Regions from separate parts of the Homo sapiens genome. Here region 1 is linked to region 2. The links are contacts of gene promoters, found by promoter capture Hi-C in human tissues and cell types (Jung and others, 2019). All regions are on one chromosome and are shown on one strand. Each heading gives the region's core, a stretch centred on a gene start or on the middle of the fragment in contact. The rest is flanking DNA. Distances are from core to core; before and after follow the strand shown. Region 1 holds the start of ITGB2 (integrin subunit beta 2). Region 2 holds the start of KRTAP10-1 (keratin associated protein 10-1).

Region 1 (7,022 bases), core at 1,258-3,757, 380 kb after region 2:
CCCGGCCTGGGCCAGAGTGGACAGACCTGGGCCTGGCAGGAGCCCTGGGGAAGTGAGTTCAAGTTACACGGTTGACTATAGAGACAGCTGGAGTGCGCACAATTGGCCAGACCACCCCTCCTGTTTCACAGATGGGGAAACTGAGTCACGGGGGACCAAATAGCCTGCTCACCCCATGCCCCTTCCAGACAGGGTGCAGATAGGGCCCCTCCCATCTCCTGGATGGCCGCGGCCCCTGTGCAGAACTTCCTTCATGGGCACCTCGCTGTCTGGGGGCCTCTTCCCCAGGGAGTCTCCTGGTGGTGGCCGTGTTGCCTCAGGCTCACTGTGCACTAGGCAGGTCACGTCGATGCCGCCTGAGGGGCAGGGGTTACCACCCTGTGGTTCAGGTGAGAAGCTCCAGGCTCAGGAGTGTCCAGCTGCCTGGGCAGTGTTTGGATCTCATGCCAGCCCCTGCCAGGAGGCCCTGCTTCTCCAGCCCAGCCCACGCCCACCAGGAAATGCCCCTATTTACTCCCTTGAGGCAAAGGCCCTTGGGTGGCTAAGCGTCCCCTCTCCCAGCACTCGGAGCTGAGCGTCCCCTCTCCCAGCACTCGGAGCTGAGCATTCCCCTCTCCCAGCACTCGGAGGCACCTGCAGTTGCTCAGCTGTTCATTGAGTGCTGGGAGTGGAAACTCATACGCTGAGCGGCAGTGACGCTGCGGAGCTGACAAACCCCACAGCCCGCCCGGTCACCTGCTTCACCGAGGGCCACAGCCCCCCCGGGGTCAGGTGGCCACAGGGGTCCTGGCCATGTGGGACATCTGTTCTGTGGCCCTGCTCAGGATGGCACCCGGCGGGGACTGGCCCTGGGGCCGAGGCATGGGCTCAGCCGCCGCCCTGCAGGGACGTAGCCAGGGACCTCTTCCCAGCAGAGGGACTCCCCCACTCATCCCCAGAATACTGAGGGGCACGCTGGGTGCCAGGCTGGCAGGGACCCTGGGGATTCTGCTGTGAGCTGGATGGGGAAGGAGTTCCTTCCTAAAATGTGGAGTCTGGAGGCCACTCTTGGTAAAGTGCTGGCCCCCGGGGATTCTGCAGTGAGCTGGGCATGGATTCTGCAGTGAGCTGGGCTTCACTCATGGTGAAACGCTGGGGTGACGGCAGACAGCCCAGAGCTTCTAGCAGCTCATTTCTGTGAAGCCTCCAGAATCCGGCCTCAGCCCCCAAACCCGCAGGCGTTGCGCCACCGTCACGGGGAAGGCGAGTGACAGCGAGTGTCCCCTATGCCCCCACAGCTCGCTCCCAGGCTGAGCTCTCCGGCCATCCCCCCCCTTCCCCATTGCAGCCATGCCACCCCTCCTTCTCCCCACCCAGGAACTGACAGAGGAGAGGGGCCCCGGATGGACAGGGACAGCAGGGCAGAATCCCAGCTCCCAGATCCAGGGGAGGGGGGATTGGGTGTGGGGACGGTGGTGCAAGGGGTGGTGCCAGGGGTGGAGGATGCATGGGGAGGGCTGGCCCCAAGAGTGCAGTGTTGGGGGAAGGGGGCCAGGTGGGCCTGGGACCCAGGGGCGTGGCTTCAATCCCCCTCCCACCAGGACCTTGGGAATGGCCTCCAGGAGCCTGTTGTGGGGAGGCCAGGGTCACCAGCTGAACCAACTCGACCAGAATCGCACAGCGGTGCCCGCTCCCCTACAGCAAGACGTCACCCAGGGGTCCCCACGGAGGAGGCAGGGAAGCTCGAGGGTCCCAGAGGAGCATGGAGCATGTGCCACACCACACCACACTACATTACACATGTGCACCATACATGTACATACAACAGACTCCCCACATCACATGCGCACACTCGCACACCATACATGCACACACACACACCACACTACGCTATGCCACACACGTGCACCATACATGCACACCATGCCACACTACACACACGACACTACACACCACGAACCACACCACACCATATCACACACCACACACTGCGAGTCGATCTGGAGATGGAATCGCTGTAGCCAGGCGGGGCAGCATGCAGACAGGAGGGCCTAACACAGGCAGGCGCAGCAGGTTCACAGAGGAGGCCCCGGGAACCTGCCTCCTGCCCAGCCCGGAGCACCAGGACCCCCCAGCCGTCCCCCTAGGGGCTTGTGGGCCCAGCCTCTTCCTGGCCTTGCCGGCCTCACAGCCCCTTGTCCTCCCATGCCGGCCCCATCCTCAGCCGCAAGCGCTCCCAGCACACCATGTGGCTCTGCTCTTGGTGGCAGGCACTTCCCCTTGCCGGGTCTCAAAGGGGACCCTGGAGCAGACGGTCTGGAGACCCCTTCCTGCCAGACACCCCTGGGCCGGGGCTATAAGCAGGGCCACCAGGGTCACTCCAGGCTGGGGCAGGAGAGTGCTTCCCTCCAAAAATCACCGTGGACATAGCGGGGCCTCTGCACACTCACCCTCGGTGTGCTGGAGTCCTCGGCGGTGCTCCTGGCTGGGCGTGGGGGCTTTGCTACCAGTCTGCCCTGGGTCACGTCTAGAAACCTCAGCTGGAGGCGCGGGTCGTAAAGTCCTGACACTTCCTGTTCCTCTCAGCTCCTCCTTGGAGGAAGTGGTGGGTTGCACCACCGTGGCCCTTCACCCCTGCCCCTCTCCGCTCTACAGCAGCTCTGATGTCAGAGAGCGGCCCCTTGAGACAGGTGGGACATGTCATTTCTCACATGAGGTCCCGGCGAGAAGGACCTGCTTCCATCAGATTCACACTTGGGAGAGGGGCCCGGCCTCCAGGAGCGCCAGGCAGAAAGGGCACCCATTAGGAAGAAGAACACAGAGGCCATGGGAGTGAAAAGTTTGATGCTGGAAAGCAACAGTAGCACATTCTGCTACAGAGCGGAATGAAAAACCCTGGGGAGCAAATTCCTGAGCCAGAGAATGGAGCGGAGGAACCAGCCAAGGAGGATAAAGAGGTGGGAACAGGCAAGAAAACCTGGGTGCGTGCACGCATTGACATCCACCTGCATGTGAGGGCGGGAGGGGACAGAACAGGGACAGCGAGGAGGAGACACTCAGGTCACAGGAGGAAGGCTGCGGATCTGGGCGGGGACGTGGATTGCGAGGCCACTGAACACCCCAGGGATGGATGGATGAGGTCCTGTTAACTAGGGACATTAGGAGGATACCACAGAACACGAAAGGGAAAATACTACAGGCTCAGAGAGAGAGAGAAGGGAGAGGAGGAGGAGGAGGAAGAGGAGGGAAAGAGATTATACCTAGAAAAAAAACCCAAATCAGACATCTTCAGAGCAAGGACTCAGACACATTACTACCCTAAACTCTGTTTTATTTATTTATTTATTTTTATGTTTTCAGTTTTTTTTGAGACAGAGTTTTGCTTTTGTCACCCAGGCTGGAGTGCAGTGGCGTGATCTCAGCTCACTGCAACCTCTGCCTCCCGGGTTCAAGCAATTCTCCTGCCTCAGCCTCCCAAGTAGCTGGGATTACAGGCACATGTACCACCACGCCTGGGTAATTTTTGTATTCTTAGTAGAGACAGGGTTTCACTATGTTGACCAGGCTGGTCTTGAACTCCTGGCTTCAAGTGATCCATCCACCTCTGCCTTCCAAAGTGCTGGGATTACTGGCGTGAGCCATGGCTCCCGGCTCCTAAACTCTGTTTTAAAGATGTCTTGCAGAAATAGACATGAAGAAATCCATGAGAAATACAAGAGCAGATGATACAAAGTTGGGCAAAGAAATAAGTAAAAATTATGATGTCATAACCTGTTGATTTAAAAAATAGTGGTAAGAATATTAACGCTGTGAAACAAAACGCCTAGAGGACTGGGTTGGGAGGGGCCAGGGAGCACATTGCCGTTCCATCCTATCTGGGGAGGAATATAGATGCTTGTCAGTGGGCATTTTGATAGAAAATATCTAAGTATATATGCTAACAATTCAAGAGTCTCCTTAAGAATAAAAATAGCATGTATATACCTGAAAAAAAATATGACAAATCTTTATTTTGGGCATGGTGGCTCAAACTTGTAATCCCAGCACTTTGGGAGGCCGAGGTGGGAGGATCACTTGAGCCCAGGAGTTCGAGACCAGCCTAGGCAACATTTGGAGACCCAGACCCTCATCTCTACAAAAAAATTTTCTAAGAATTCGCCAGGCATGGTAGCACGCGATATGGTCCAGGCTACTTGGGAGGCTGAGGTGGGAGAATTGCTTGAGCCCAAGAGGTTGAGGCTACGGTGAACCATGCTTACACCACTGCACTCCAGTCTGGGTAACTGAGAAAAAAAAAAAAAAAAAAAGGCAAATCCTTTAAAAGAAAAAAGTAAGGGAAAATAGAACAAACAAGAAAGGTAAATAAAAACCAAACAATAAAACATTGGGAATAATTTCAAACCCATCAGGAATCACAGCACCTGTGAATGGGTTACATTTTCTTGTTTTAAATCAACAAGGTCTTGCGTTGGGTTTTAGAAATAAAGAGACAAAACAAGTTCCAATGAAATGTTCTCTGTCAAGGGTATCTTCTCATTACAGACTTAGCCTAGAAAATAATGAAGAAGGACAGAAAGAGAATACCATTCTACTACACCCGCTGATGACTTAAAGTAAGCAATGACCCTCGCTGCGAACGTCACGGACGCAGCAGACGTTATGCACACACCTTTAATGAATTAGTCTTGATGAAATAACAATAGAAATCAAGAAAAATAGAAAGAACAAATGTTACTATTGAGCCTGAATCAGGTCGAACTTTTTAGATCTACAAAGAAGCATCAGGAGGGTGTGTTAGATGACATCGTAGGGATGCAATTAGCAAAATCCAGGCTGAAGAAACCCTCACAAGGCAAACAGCACAGTACAAGAGGAGAGACGAAGGGAGAGAGACCCTTTAGATTAAGAGATTTAATCTCTTAATAGAACCAATTGCAATGCATGGACCATATTTTAAAATCATTGTTAATTGTTTTAAGTGTGACAATGGTTTGTGGTTATGTTAAAAAGTCCCCATCTTTTAGAGTTACATGTTGAAATATTTGCAGATGGTGCAGTATAATGTTTCAGATTTATTTCCCAATAAAGAGGGGTGGGTTGGGTTGGGGGAGAGTCGGGAGAGGTGTTGATACAACAAGATCACCTGTGAGTTGATTATTTTTGAAGCCACTGTTGGGGACATGGGGCTTCACTAATCTATTCTCTCTACTTCTGTAGATGTGTGAAATTTTTTGTAGTAAGATTAAAAAAACATTTCAAGGAAGTGTAAAGTTATTATTTCGCGGGTATAAAGTTCCCGTTTTGCAAGATGAAATGGTTTTGGAGAAGTTGGTGGTGATGGTTGCACAGTACTAAGTGTCCTTAATGCCACGGAAATGCATAACTTCAAATGGTTAAAATGGTGAATTTATGTTATGTATATTTTATCACAATTAAAAAGTAAAAAGTGTAAGAAAGGCTCTCTATCAGATAAACTGTTAAAAGAGAACACTGAAGGCTGAAAATAAAGAAACGGAAAATACACGTATGTGCTAGAAAATACTAACGAAGATATCGTGTAACATCAAAAAGATAGAAATCAAAGCAAAATGCATCAAATGGACAAAGGAAGATGTAGCCAATGAGAGTCAGAATCCACAGACAGTTCAGCAGCCATAATCCTTTGTGTGCCGAACTTCAAAATATATAAAACAAAGACTGACAAATATATAAGCAAACTGACACAGCCCCAAACAGCAAATATCTCTAACAGATCTCTCTCAGAAATAAACACATCAGGCCAGTCGCGGTGGCTCACACCTGCAATCCCAGCACTTTGGGAGGCTGATGTGAGCGGATCACCTGAGGTTAGGAGTTCAAGACCAGCCTGGCCAACATGGCAAAACCCTGTCTCTACTAAAAATACAAAAATTAGCTGGGCATGGTGGCGCATGCCTGTAATCCCAGCTACTTGGGAGGCTGAGGCAGGAGAATCACTCAAACCTAGGAGGCAGAGGTTGCAGTGAGCCGAGATTGTGCCACTGCATTCCAGCCTGGGTGATGAGAAGGAAACTCTTACTCAAAAACAAAAACAACAACAAACAAACAAGAAAAAATCAAATAGAAATGCAAATTTGGCAGGTAGAGAATTTGAGGAACGTAACCATTCGTCTCCAACTTAAACACAATTATGTTACAAAGTGGGACAATGATAAACACATAATTACTAGACCACAAGGGAAATAACCACATATTCTAAAGCACAAAGACCATAAGGAGGCCAAATTCACGGACACAATTGAATGAAATTAGATGCTGTCCAAAGGATGGCATGAAAGAAAAAAAACAGCACTCCTGAAAAGTGGACCCAAATATAGCCTAGATCACATACATCCATGGTGCCACACTCACGCTACGGGGTAATGAATAAGAGCCCTTGAAGTGCTGCTCTGAAGCCTCGTGACCCACAGATCCGTAACACTGAGATTCTTCTGAAAAGCAAAATGTAGAAGGAGGCATTGAAGAATAACATGCACCTCGTCCCTGCAGACCCACACACCCCTAGAGCAGGACAGTGGTTACCCCTGAAGACAGAGAAGGCTACGGGCCTGGGAGATGGAAGCAGAGGGCTTCAAAGTTCTATTGTAGAGTTTTCTTTACTAAAAAGGAAGAAAAAGTTCTGGGCAAGTCAGGCAACATGTTAAGATTTGGTAAGATGAGAGGTAGCTGTTTGGGGATTGGTACTAGTGCTCTCCATGCTGTTCTGTATTCTTAAAATAGTTTATATCTTTTTTTTTTTTTTAAAGGAGCTAGGAGGAAGTGACTGCAAATGAGCAGAAGGATCTTTCAGGGGGTGGAAATGCTCTGAAATTAGATTGTGGTGATGATTGCACAATTCCGTAAATTTTCTTTTTGTTGCTGTTGTTTCTTTCTTTCTTTTTTTAATAGAGACTAGGTCTCGCTACGTTGCCAAGGCTATGGTGAGCCAAGATCACACCACTGCACTCCAGCCTGGGTGACAGAGTAAGATCCTGTCAGAAAGAAAGAAAGGAAGAAGGAAGGGA
Region 2 (6,755 bases), core at 3,148-5,647:
TCAGGTGATCCGCCCGCTTCGGCCTCCCAAAGTGCTGGGATTACAGATAAAGCAAAGTTTTGAGCTTTAAGACCAGAAGGATCAATTTCTATGTTTATCAAAAAAAAAAAAAGGAAAAAAGAAAAAAAAAAACTATCTATGGGGCTATTAGGTCTTTTTCCATTGGAAGTGGACTTTCTGTTCTGCCCAACTTTGCTTCCACTCCAAGCTCCTTACCCTCAGGTTGGGAGACAGAGGGACTCTTCTGTGGAAGGAAGCCCTGGTAGCTCAGACTCAAGAGTTCACAGTGGCAGAGTCCAGCCCTGTCAGGCTTCTTCCTGCAGCCGCTTGTGTTCCATGGCTGATGGAGAGGAGGGGCCTGCCCAGCTGCAGTGGCTGTTCACACTCTGGCCCCCTTTCCGGGCGGTGCTGGGCTTCTCCCATCCTCAGGCTGCTGCTCCTGCCAGTGCTCCCTCGGCGTCCTCCGGCACAGACCTCAGCAACACTGACTTCTGGGCCTGGTTCCTACCCACTCGCATTTTGGGCCCTTGGGTGATATCTTGCCATTAAGTTCTGTCCTAAATGGAACCCATGGGTTTTTCTTTTTCTATCTGGTAATTCTCTCTGTTTCTATTTGGGATTTAGGGAGATTTAGAAACTATGCCTCAGGTAGCACCATGTCTCTAGGATCCACTCCTCCCTCTCAAAACAATCCTTGATTCTAGTAAATGAAAATTCATAGCAAAAAGGAAATAGAAAGACTTGGTTTAAAAATAAAAGGTTTCTACTTAAACCCCACAGCAAACACTGCGTGTAGTGGTGAACCTTTGACGCTTTCTCATGAAAGTCAGGAACAATCAAGGATTCTTTTAATTTTATTCAGCATCATCCTGGGTGTTCAAAGTAATGTTGCCACAGGAAAAACAATAGAAATGGGAGTTTTAAAGATTGGAAATGAGAAGTTAAATTCTCCTTATTTTCAAATGATGAGCTCATCTACATAGAAAAATCCAAGAAAATCAATGACAAACTGTAAGAACTAATAAGAGAACTTGCAAAGGAAAGGAGCTAAACATATGGTTTGATATGAAGACAATATATATGTAAAAAATTTATATAGACATATATACAGGATTTATATACTAAGACAACATAATAGAAAACTGTTCCCCATTCACACTAGTAAAACATCCCTATGAAATACCTCGAATTTAATCCAAAGAGGAATATTTTAGACCTATAGAAGAAAATGATGGAATTCTAAATGGAACTATTGTACTGTGTAACTGCAAGGCAAGACAAGATGAACAATTATAGTTTCCTCCTACATATTTAAAAGCTCAATGCAATCCCAATCAAAATTATAGTAGTTTAAAAAATACTGGAAAAGCTTTCTAAAATTAATCGAGAACAAGCTAGAACCAACGTTTTTAGAAAATAAGATAGTGGCACCTTCCTTAGGAGCTGTTAGTTTCCTCCTACATATTTAAAAGCTCAATGCAATCCCAATCAAAATTATAGCAGTTTAAAAAATACTGGAAAAGCTTTCTAAAATTAATTGAGAACAAGCTAGAACCAACGTTTTTAGAAAATAAGATAGTGGCACCTTCTTTATGAGCTGTTAGGATATATTATGAAGCTGAATAACATGGATAAAACAGCTGGAATGGATGCAAGGATAGATCAAGAGATGAATAGAACAAAATACAAAATAGGGATTTCAGAAGCAGGCTATACAAACATTTCTCAGACAAAAGAGATGTTTCAAATGGGAGATGGAGAGAATAAACTAACTTTAAAAAAGGACAGTTGGCTATTGGTGGAAGAGAAAGATTAATACGTCATACCTCACACAAGTCATATCAGCAAATGGGGCAAAAAGTTAAATCTAAGCAATAACAATGAAACCAATATCAGCAAAATTAGGCCTGTTTCCAATCTCGGGGAGTGTGCTGTATAGAAGCAATGATGGGTTGGAAATATTTGGAGGGCATATGATGGACAGAGGATCCCCAGCCCTAAATCCACAAGAAAAACACACATAGCCTGATAAGAAATGGGCTAGGAATGTGAACAGGAAACTTTCAGTGTGGACGGCCATGCATTTAGGCCATAGTGGGTTCCCAGCAGCCGTCAGTGCGGAGGGCAGGGAGCTGAGAGCAGATCAGGCTGAGCCGGGGTCACGCGGGGTCCCCCAGCCACTGAGGGCCCTGGGCAGCAACCACGCAGACCCCGCCCCCCAGGCTCCACCTCACTTTCTGTGGCATTTCTGTGCCTGTTCTGACCACAGCCGTGGCAGCACCATGTCCATCAGGCTGCGGCCGGCCTGGCTGTGGGGTGACTGCAGCATCCCAGGGGCGGGCATTCTCATCAGCGTTTTGGTCTCTGCAGCTGGCCTGGAGGAGTTTGTCTCACAGTCTGAGGACTGACTGCTCTGCACCCACCCAGGGTGGCGGAGCCCCATGCGCTGCCTGATCTTACCATTGTCCCCGCTGACGGCCTTTCCCACAGGACATCACAGGCAGCTCATGCTCCCCGCGTGGACCAAGCCTTAGAGAGATGAGAGTGTCGCTGACTGTGTGCCCGCACCGGCATCATCTGTGGGAACCCAGGCTCCTTGTCCCTACACCTGTGTGGAAACTGCTGCCCCCCCCCCCCCCAAGAGGAGAACCTGGGCAGCGCCAGGGTTTTGGGGAATCCTGTGCCTCCATCCGCCCACCCCATGATGCTTTTGTTCCCATCGAGTCCCTTGTCTCCTGCGCAGGTGCAGCAGCCCCTCCCTCTCCCCTCGCATTGCTGCTAAAACGGGCAGAACCCTCGGGCGGGCGGCACACAGGGAGGGTGACCAGGCCTGGAGGCTGCAGTGCCCGGACCCCAGGGCAGCTTCCCGGAAGGTGACCCTGCAGTGTGGGCTCTCCCAGGTGAGAGAGTGGGTGGGACAGTCCTGGGGCCTGGAGAGCCCCACAGCCCAGGGCATGACAGCGAATGACCAGGCTCAGGAAGACCCGGGCACAGGGGCTGAGCTGGGACTGAGCCTTCCTGGGAGTGACCGTGAGTCCCACCTGGTGACCCCCTGGAGGAGTTAGGCCACTGTCCCCTGTGACTTCTAGGTTAAGTCACTCATTCCTAAAAATAATCATGGCTGGAGGAGACCAATGTCAGCTCAAAACCATGTGTCCCCCAGGAACACAACAGAAAAGAGAATCAGGTGACCAAGGAGAGTTTATTGGGGAGCAGGAGGAGGTGCTGAGAGGTTCAAGTCGAGGCCAAGTGACCCAGAGCAGAGAAGCTGGGAGGGAGGACAGGGGACCTAGCAGGCAGGTGGGCACCTGCTGGAAGGCAAGAGCTGGGGAGCTGCAAGGATGGAGGCTCCTGGGAGCAAGGAGGGGGGGTCACCTCAGCACAGGGGAGACACGGGGACCCGTCCTAGGTGGGGGAAGCCACCTAACCCAGGTCAGGAACTGAGCCCAGCTGGCCCAGGGCGGGTGCCCATCAGCAGCTGGACTCCTGGCCTGAGCAGAGGCCTCAGCAGGCCGGGCGGGAGCACGCGGGGCGGCAGAGGAGGGACACGCAGGAGGCCGGGCGGCAGCAGCTGGCCTGGCAGGAGGAGGCAGGGGCACAGCAGGAGGAGACAGGCATACAGCAGGCGGGCCGGCATACAGGGCGGCAGAGGAGGGACACGGAGGAGGAGGGTCTGCAGCAGGAGGTGGTGCAGCAAGCCGGCTGGCAGCTAGACTGCTGGCAGCATGAAGTGGAAGCCCCAGAGCAGACGGGCACACAGCAGATGGGCTTGCAGCAGACAGGCTTGCAACGGACGGGCACGCAGCAGGCCTGCTGGCAGGGGGAGGAGGTGCAGCAAGCTGGATGGCAGCTAGACTGCTGGCAGCATGAAGAGGAATCCTCAGAGCAGGTGGGCACATAGCACACAGGCTTGCAGCAAACAGGCACACAGCAGGACTGCTGGCTGGAGGAAGAGGCACAGCAAGTTGGCTGGCAGCTAGACTGCTGGCAGCATGAAGAGGAATCCTTAGAGCAGGTGGGCAGGCAGCACACAGGCTTGCAGCAGACGGGCACGCAGCAGGCCTGCTGGCAGGGGGAGGAGGTGCAGCAAGCCGGCTGGCAGCTAGACTGCTGGCAGCACGAGGGCGTGCAGGAGCTGGTGCAGCCTGATTGGCAGGGGCTGGGCTCACAGGCTGCCTGGCAGCAGGGGCTGGACACACGGCTCACTGGGGTGCAGACCAGGGTCAGGCAGGGGGCCGGGGCGCAGCAGCTGAGGGCGCAGCAGTGGGGCTCACAGCAGCTCTCTGGGCAGGCATCCACCTGCCAGGAGTCGGAGCAAGCGCTGGAGCAGACGGACATGGTGGACGCGGCCATGCTGGGGTGGGGAGGAGGTGAGCTGCGGGAGGTGTGAGTGAGTGAGTGTGGGAGTCAGTGTGTGTGTGAGTGACTGAGTGTGTGAGTGAGTGTGTGAGCTTCGTGGGGCTCTGCTTTTATACCCCTTCTGGCCTTGTTGTTCCAGGGCCCACAGCGTCCCCTTCCTGGTTGCTGAGAGGTGGCGTGTGTCATGACTAGGGATGTTTGTTTGCCTGTGATGTGGCCCAGGTCATAAATCTCCTGTCCTGTCTGGGCTGTAGCCTGTCCCATGTGGATCCCTGGGGGCAAGAGTGGAGGTGGACCTGGTCCCAGCACGCCACCAGTGCAGTCCGGGTTGTAAGAAGGGGGCTGCGGAGGCAGGGGTGGCCCTTCAGCCTTATGCAAAGTGTGGCATGCCAGGGTGAGAGCTGTCCCACTCACGATCGTGGGGGCGTCTCCTCCCTAAAGCGGGTCCTCACTGAAGAGGCAGAAGCAGCTGGTAGAAGCACAGGATCACTGGAGCAGCCGGAGAGAAGGTGCAGCAGTGGCCAGCGAACCCCACAGTGGTGGCCCTGCACATTCCTTCCCCCATCCCCATCACTGAAGAAATTAGAGCCCCAAACAGGGAGAAGGGGAGCAAGGAAGGAGAGGCCATGCCCCTCCCCACGGCCTTCCCCGAGGTCCACTCAGACGTTGGTGTGGGAACGCTGGGGATAGGACTGGGTTTCGGACAGGAAAGAAAAGTTTTGAACTGGCCCATGGATTTGGTTCTGCTCTTAAAGGCCATAGCTTTATGATGTGCTTCAACCATAGATAACTCAAGTCCCGTTATCAATATTCTTAAATTTATTTTTTTTTTTTTTTGTACAGATGGCGTCTCAAGTGATCCCTCCTGCCTTGGCCAAAGTACTGGGATTGCAGGCGTGAGCCCGGTGCCTGGCCATCATCAGTATTTCTGCACCACGTGTCTTCCCTGTTCCTGTTCATTGTCCTTGCTGTCCTCAGCTTCCTTTCTTCAAACGTAAGCTGCATGTGAGCAGGGAGTGTGTTTGTCTTGTTCACCACTCAGTCTTCAAAGGCCTAAAATCATGCCTGGCCCAAGGAAAAGCCTTTATAAAAATGGGCTGAAATAATAAACTTTTTTGGAGAAATTATTGAAGAGTAATTTTGAGCTCTGAACGCGATTCCATTGTGCCACCTTTTTCTTATGCTGTATAAAATGCTCTGTCAAGTTCTCCTTTCGTGTGTGGGGAACTGGCTTACATCAGACTGGCCATCTAGCTGAGAAATATTAGGAAATCTGGTTTACAAACAAAATCTCTGTTCGAAGGGGCCGGGAGGTATCAAGACAGCTGAGACTTGAGTGAGTGAATCCGCATTAGAGAGAAACTGCACAGAAGTGAGTCCAATATTCCTTGTGGATTTTCTTACTGAGGCATTTACCAATTTACAGACCACAGCCAAGAGGCCGAGAGCCTGATCAGCTGAGCAGAGCTTTTAGTAGTCTCATGGAATTAGAAGAAAAAAACCACAGAGTTCAGGACCTGACAAGGTGGAGGGATTCTAGCAAAAACACCCTAGGCTTTCAGTTGGAAATGCTGAATGTAAGTGAAGGGCTACTCCCTAGGAGGAAGGAAAAACCAGAAAGAATGAAACCTATCTTTAAATAAACTCGCACTGAACTCATATGATCTGCCTGTAGCCTAACTGCCTCCCAGAAACAAAAGTGATCTCTTCTGGAGACAGCAGCATCAACAGAGGCTCAAATCATCTTATAAATTTTCATAAAGTCCTTCATGCAGTCAAAAAATTACTAGGGATATTAGAAGACAAGACCAACTGACCAAAAGACCAAGAGGAAAAAAACAAACAAGAGAAACAGACGTGCAGGAGATCTAGATATTAGAATTGTGAAACTGGAATTTAATGCTGATTAACTTGCTCAAGAAAATAGAGAACAAATGGAGAATTTCAGTGTCAAACTGGATTTATTAAATGGAATCAAACAAAAATTCTGGAAACGAAGAACACAATAGCTGAAATTAAGAACTAGGTAGCTTAGCTTTACAACATATAGACAAAACCAAAGAGAAGATTAGTAAAGGAAGGGAGATGAGGAAATTTCAAGCCTGAATACAGAGATGGGAAAGAAAAGAGGGAAATAAAGAAAGTGGAGCAATAAACATGCCTATATTTTGTGAAAATTTATGGGAAAAATGATTGAAATCCTACAAGGAGAGGAGTGAAATAGGGGTAGTAAAATATTTGAAGATGTAATGGACAAGAACTTTAACCTGATGAAATGCATAGATGCAAAGAGCATTTAAGAATCTTTAGGCCAGGCATGATGGCTCACACCTGTAATACCAGCACTCTGGGAGGCCAAGGTGGTCAAACTGCTTGAGCTTAGGAGTTGAAGACCA

The links. The method cuts DNA at HindIII sites, captures the fragments that hold promoters and counts their contacts. A contact is called where the count stands out against the background at its distance.
Region 1: a contact is called between the fragment with the promoter of ITGB2 here and the fragment with the promoter of KRTAP10-1 in region 2, in 3 of the 25 tissues and cell types used here (dorsolateral prefrontal cortex, lymphoblastoid cells and mesendoderm cells).

Annotation. Positions count from the first base shown.
Region 1 is chr21:44,918,392-44,925,413 of GRCh38, forward strand. It overlaps ITGB2 (integrin subunit beta 2), which reads right to left and starts at 2,508. Exons shown (of 16, transcript NM_000211.5): 1 at 2,430-2,508. ITGB2-AS1 (ITGB2 antisense RNA 1) reads left to right here and starts at 2,644. Exons shown (of 3, transcript NR_038316.1): 1 at 2,644-2,936. RefSeq lists an enhancer at 1-15 and a silencer at 1,099-1,158. The HindIII fragment of the contact is 46,650 bases long and covers 1-7,022 here.
Region 2 is chr21:44,535,798-44,542,552 of GRCh38, forward strand. It overlaps KRTAP10-1 (keratin associated protein 10-1), which reads right to left and starts at 4,398. Exons shown (of 1, transcript NM_198691.3): 1 at 3,184-4,398. The coding sequence starts at 4,353. The coding sequence ends at 3,505. The region is part of intron 2 of TSPEAR (thrombospondin type laminin G domain and EAR repeats); the gene reads right to left. RefSeq lists enhancers at 2,283-2,782, 3,136-3,800. The HindIII fragment of the contact is 21,448 bases long and covers 1-6,755 here.